2 separate regions of the Homo sapiens genome follow, and region 1 is linked to region 2. Evidence: promoter capture Hi-C in human tissues and cell types (Jung and others, 2019). All regions are on one chromosome and are shown on one strand. The core of a region is centred on a gene start or on the middle of the fragment in contact, and the rest is flanking DNA. Distances in the headings are between cores, read along the strand shown.

The links. The method cuts DNA at HindIII sites, captures the fragments that hold promoters and counts their contacts. A contact is called where the count stands out against the background at its distance.
Region 1: a contact is called between a fragment that was not itself captured here and the fragment with the promoter of CHRDL2 in region 2, in 2 of the 25 tissues and cell types used here (heart left ventricle and thymus).

Annotation. Positions count from the first base shown.
Region 1 is chr11:74,558,074-74,561,147 of GRCh38, reverse strand. No RefSeq gene overlaps it. Among named protein-coding and RNA genes, the nearest start is that of POLD3, 33 kb to the left of the region's middle. The HindIII fragment of the contact is 3,664 bases long and covers 1-3,074 here.
Region 2 is chr11:74,729,615-74,732,933 of GRCh38, reverse strand. It overlaps CHRDL2 (chordin like 2), which reads left to right and starts at 1,508. Exons shown (of 11, transcript NM_001278473.3): 1 at 1,508-2,127. The coding sequence starts at 2,046. The HindIII fragment of the contact is 7,141 bases long and covers 1-3,319 here.

The DNA.
Region 1 (3,074 bases), core at 351-2,850, 170 kb after region 2:
CCGGGAGGCAGAGCTTGCAGTGAGCCGAGATAGCGCCACTGCACTCCAGCCTGGGTGACAGAGCAAGACTCCGTCTCAAAAAAAAAAAAAAAAAAAAAAAAGAAGTTGGACACAAAAGAACACATACTATGTGATTCTACTTAACAGTTCAAAAACAGGCAAATCTAATTTTTGACGTTAGAATTCAGGACAGCATTTAGCTTTGCAGGGTGAAGTGGCTGGAAGGAGGCACAAAGGAGCTTCTGAGCTGCTGGTCATGTTCTATTTCTCCTCCTGAGTGTTGGTTACATGGAGGTGCACTTTCTCAAAATTTATTGAACTGTACACGTATGATTTATGTACTTTTCTATGAATGTTATACTTCAGTTTTGTTTTTGATTTTGTTTTTTGTTTTGAGATGGAATTTCGCTCTTGTTGCCCAGGGTGGAGTGCAGTCGCGCAATCTCAGCTCACTGCAAACTCCGCCTCCCGGGTTCAAGCGATTCTCCTGCTTCAGCCTCCCGAGTAGCTAGGATTATAGGTGCTTGCCACCACGCCCGGCTAATTTTTGTATTTTTTGTAGAGACGGGGTTTCACCATGTTGGCCAGGCTGGTCTTGAGCTCCTCAGATGATCCACCCACCTCAGCTCCCAAAGTGCTGGGATTACAGGTGTGAGCCACCGCGCCCGACCACTTCAGTTTTTAAAGTTGAATTTTGAAAATGCATTCCAGCTACTCTGCGGACTGGAGGGAGCAACTCCTTAGGCACAGAACCCAGTGGAAAAGCTGCTGGAAGAGTGGAGGCACCTCCTGCTTTTTCATTTTCTACTTAGCATGCTGTGTGCTTTTTGATGACTGTTTTTTCCAGGCAGGTTAGCTAAGCTGTTGGGAGAAGTGTGATGGATGGAAGGGGCATCATAAGTAAGAGGTCTTAAAAAACTCAAGAAAAAAAAAACGAGACTTGGAAATCTCTTCCACCCCACCTCCTCCCTGAAGTCACTCTGGCCATGGGAGTGGATGGATGAAGGTCAGAGCAGGTGAGTCACTTGCTTCCTTAACCACTGAGAATATTTTTCCCACTCTGTGCATTCAGCCTCCCCCCACTTCCCAGACATGGAGGCTTAGCTTAGGATAAGACATCATGCATCCTTTCCCAGAGACTCAATCTTCATTTCATACCTCTTTTACGTCACCTAAGTCCTTCTGGATCCTCAGGACAGGAACTGAAGCCCTGGGGATCAATGACAAGGAAGGAGCTGCTGAAAGAGGTCCCTGTCCACTGGGCAGAAGGGATCCTCCAGTCCAGAGTGCGGCTGAGCACTTGGAAGCTGGGAAGTCAGCCAGCATTTCATCTTTTGTTTTTTCCTCCTGGGGCTTCCTGTCTCAGAGGTGAATGGAGAGGGGTCATGGGGACTTCCTGGCCTCTGCAAATAAACCTTTCCATTGTCGTTGGCCAGGCAGTACTTCCAGGCCAGACAGCCCAGGTTGATGGGCAGTAACCAAAACAGCAATGCTGCCTTCAAAGGAAGCTTACCCCTAGTCCCATCAAAGGTCCCTGTGGGCTGGGCATGGCGGCTCACACCTATAATCTCAGCACTTTGGGAGGCTGAAGCAGGAGGATCACTTGAGCCCAGGAGGTCCAGGTTGTAGTGAGCCCTGATCGCATTACTGCACCCAACAGAGCAGGACCCTGTCAGAAATAAATAAATAAATAAATAAATATCCCTGCAAGAAGAGGCTATACACTGCTGAGGTGGAAAAGCAGTCATGATCGCAGCCAGAACTTGACCACTCATTGTTGAGGGGTGAGTGGGAACTAGGTGGGGGAGAAGCATCAGAGAATGTGAGGGCTGGTAGGGCCTGAGAAGTCAGCTAGTTTGTTTTCTGATGATTCCTCATACCCAGACAGTTCCTGACACGTAATAGGGACTCTATAAACATTTACTGAATAAATGAGTGGATCTAGTCCTACATTTTCATTTAAGTGAGCTGTCAGGAAAGCAAGGCCCGAAATGGAAAAGGACATTTCCCAAGGACACACAGTGAGTTAGTATCAGAACCCAGACTAGAGCTCAGGGTTCCTGAATCCCTATTCTTTCTGTTAATAACTGGGTGACAATCGGTACACAGGGGAGGGGAGCCATATTCTCCTCCTTCCTTAAGCCAAAGGAAACTGGGGACTTCAAGAAAACCACTCAGAGAGCTTGACATGTTGCACTGAAGTTTGGGAATCATAAGATATGGAGTTTGACATATTCTTGAGGAATTTAAATATTAGAGACTGAATGGAATTTGTAGGACTAGAGAGAGATGGTTGGGCTGAGAGCAAACCCTTCTCCCACTGGCCATGGGGCAAAAGCAGGTTTTTCCTAGGAACTGAGGTAGACCTGGAAGAAGGGATCTGACCTAGGATCTTCCTAAAACAGGTCTGTCCTCAAAAGAATTGCACTGAGGGCACTGGGACCCCAACAGAGAAGATGGACTGCTAAAGTTCAGGAGCCAAGCCAGAGGAGAAGCTTTGCTTCTCAAGGGAAGTATAGTTGGGGGCTCCAAGGGAGGATCCCTTAAAGGTTCCCCTAAAGCCTTTCAAAGAGATAGAATTGGTTTTGGGCATTTGTCCTGCCCAAAACAGCAACATCGTATTGTAGTTGACACTCTTTTTCCTTCATCTTCTCTCCTTCTTGGAGGCAGAGACAGACTTACCTTGAAACTAATGAAGCTTAAATTTCAGGGTTCCTCACTTACAGACCTCTTTAGTCTCACAGATTTTGTATTTGTAATTTTGTATTTTTTCCTTAAAAATATATATTATAAAATTTATATTATTTTTGTATTGATAATAAACAATTTTATACTGATGCATAAACAATTATCACAAACTTAGCCACTTATTACAAATTTATTATTTCTGCTTCTGTATACCAGAAGTCGACGTAGGGCATGACTCAATTCTCTGCTCAGGATCTCAGCAGGCTGGACTGAAAGTGCTGGTCATGTATAGGGCTCAGGGTTCTCCTTCAGGCTCACTGGTTATTGGCAGAATGCAGTTCCTTATGGTTGTAGGACTGAGGTCACCATTGTCCTGCTGGTTATCA
Region 2 (3,319 bases), core at 259-2,758:
GGAAGCATGGTGACATGCATAAGCTTGCACTATCTGTTAAAATAAAGAATACTCAGGGGAAAGGAAGAGACTGGCCAGATTAGAGTAGAAATTAAGCCTGAAGGGCACTGGACAGATCATGTTTGTCCCTGATCCTGAGAGCCCTAGGAAGGGCCAGTTTGGGGATCACTGGTTCCTCCTACTGCTCTCTTTTGGAGGGTGGAGATCTTGGGGGTAATACCCTGAAAGCACAGTGCAATGGGGAGCCCAGCCTTGGCCCAGAAAGATACCTTTACAGCCAGCCAGCCAAGTGTTTAAACCCGGAAATATGATTCCCTACCAGAGTGGGATATGGCTCAACATCCCTTCCCACCTCATACTCCTCTGGCACTCTTTGGAGTCTCCATTAGCTCTTCAAGAGAAGCTGGGCAGAAAGTTGAGGTCCAAAGCAAGGATAGATGTATTTACTCAAAGTGGCCCAACAAGTTACGGATGGAGCCAGGACAGTGACTCTGCCCTTTTGATTTCAGAGCTTGTGTGTTTCTGGTCTGGCCAGAGCTGGCTATTCTCTTCTTAGTGTCCTATTAGTGCATGTGTTCATTCAACACAAGAGATGGAGCACCATTTGAGGGCTGGAGGGTGTCAGGGCCCTGTCCTCAGGGAGCTCCCCTTCTGGTGGGAAAGAAAACTCTTTGACAATCAGCTCTCCCTAAAGATGACTGAAGGTGACCATCACTCCCAGAGAAGTGCAGGCCTCACCTGCAAAGGCAAAGGAGAGATCTTGCCTTGATTCGGGAGTGGGAGCGGGGAGCAGAGGAAGACCTCCAGGGGAAGGCACAGGATCCCTATGGGCTGACTTTCCTGAGAATGGCGCATGGGCAGACGGAGTGGGGACAGGGGCCACTGGTATTGTAGGCACCTGGAATTAGGACCCCTTCTCTTTGTGGGGTGAGTGTTTCGACGTTCATTACCTTATTTCATCTTAGCAACACTCGTGGGAAGATAGTAGAGATATTTTAAGATCTTAAAATGCCCATTTTAAAGCTGGGAAAACAGACTCTCCGGTGGCGTGCTGTAGACCACAAACTGAATTAAGAACGCCAGTGTTCTGATTCCATCCATCTGCGGAGTTCCGGGCACGCACCGCCGAGCGCCTTACCCTGAGCCTTCCCGGTACCCGCAGCCCCGACAGCTCAGCCTTCCCCACCTGAAAGTTCCACCTGAGGTCTCCCTCAACTCTGCCCTCCTGCATTCTTGGCGTCGCGGGGAGTCAGGGGTTAAACCCCGTGGCCCGCGTGGCCCCTTCCCCCTCCGCAGCCCCCTCGCCTCCACTCGGCGCCGCGCCTGGAGCGTCCGTCCCGGAGACCCGCACAAGAGAGGAGGGGAAAAAGTGGGCCTGTTTCTCGGGTGGCCAATCCACCGAGCCCGCGGTGCCCCAGAGGAGGCGCCAGCGCTAGGCCAGCGCCAGGCCGGGCTGCCTGCTTCCCGCGGCAAAGTACAAATGCGCCCGAGCGCGGCGCCTGAAGCCCTTGGCGAGCACAGCCGGCCCGCGCTCAGCCTCCCTCCGCGGCCGCCGCGCCGCCGCCGCTGCTGGGACCGCCGCCCCGCCGGGCCCCAGGCCCCCGCGGCCCGACCCCGAGCCCACCGAGCAGGGGGCGCCGGCCGCCTCTAGCCCGCGCGCCCGCAACACCCGCTGGTCCCGCGCGCCTCGCCCGGCGCTGCGCGCTCGGCAGACGCCGGTCCTCTCCCTGCTTTCTCCTCCTCTCCCTCTCACCTTCCCCCTTTCTTTGATCGCCTCTCCCTTCTGCTGGACCTTCCTTCGTCTCTCCATCTCTCCCTCCTTTCCCCGCGTTCTCTTTCCACCTTTCTCTTCTTCCCACCTTAGACCTCCCTTCCTGCCCTCCTTTCCTGCCCACCGCTGCTTCCTGGCCCTTCTCCGACCCCGCTCTAGCAGCAGACCTCCTGGGGTCTGTGGGTTGATCTGTGGCCCCTGTGCCTCCGTGTCCTTTTCGTCTCCCTTCCTCCCGACTCCGCTCCCGGACCAGCGGCCTGACCCTGGGGAAAGGATGGTTCCCGAGGTGAGGGTCCTCTCCTCCTTGCTGGGACTCGCGCTGCTCTGGTTCCCCCTGGACTCCCACGCTCGAGCCCGTAAGTAGACCGGGAGGCTGGGTGGGCAGAGGAGGGATGCGGCCCCTGGAATGTGAGGGACAGCGCCAGGACCTGGACCCCAAGCTCTTCTGACAGCCGTCCAGGCAGCACCTGTGCCGGAGGGGTGGAGACTCCGTGAGGACCAGTATGGGCCGGGGGACCGGAGGAACTCGGCACAACTCAGAACTGAGAGAGGGCTGCTGCCAGGGACCTGAGGAGGGGCACCAAGGGCAGCGGGGGGAGAGGGCAGGGCACTGTGTTTTGGGTTGGGGGAGGACTTACTGTTCCTAGGAGGGAGTCGGGTATGTCTGGCTACAGGTAAGGAGTGTGATGGAGAAGAAAAGGCTTTTTGCCTTTGGAAAGAGCCATTGGACAGAAATGAGAGGTAATTAGGATAACCTTCCCATTCTTTTCTCTCTTTTGATCCTCGCAACTCTCCAGTGAGGTGGGTATTATCATTCGCACTTTACAGATGAGAAAACTTAGGCTGAGCAAGGAGGAACTTGCTAAAACTTACAGAGCGGGTAAGCCATCCAAAGCCAGAACTCTAGTTCCAGATCCCATGCTTTATTCCCTGCCTCACATTGTCTAGAAGGAACCCTGAATTTGCAGTGTGAGACTCTGGGAGGCGGCAGGGCACAGTGAGATAGACCAGCGTCTTCACCATCCCAGCCCCGCTGAATGCCAGCTGCTGGGAGGCCGTCACAGAGTGCACCTCTCTGACCCTGGGTTTCCTAATCTATAAAGCGGAAGTAAAAATCCTAGGAGAGTTGATAGGATTAAATTAGAGAAAAGAGGTAAAGCAGCTAGCACAAGACTGGTGCTTGATAGCTTCCAAAAAAAATCAGTTCCCAATTATGCTTTTCCACATAGATACAGTGTAACATCAAACAGGTTACATCATCAATCTGAGCCTCAGTTTCCTCACTGCGCCCACAATAGGCTGGTGGTCCCCCCTCCCCATGCCCAGCCAATCTCTTAGAATGCTGTGAGGATGGAAAACCAAACCACATTCTCTTAATCAGAAGAAAGGAGCTTCATTCAAGCAGTGGGTTTCTCCAGGACATACATGGCACAGCCTGGGATTAAGACCCTGCGTTCCCAACTCCTAGTCTGGTGCTCTTTCCTCTCCCCAGCTCAGCTCCTCCATCTATGCCTTTCTTTTGCACGTGACATTCTGGAGCTGGTAGTG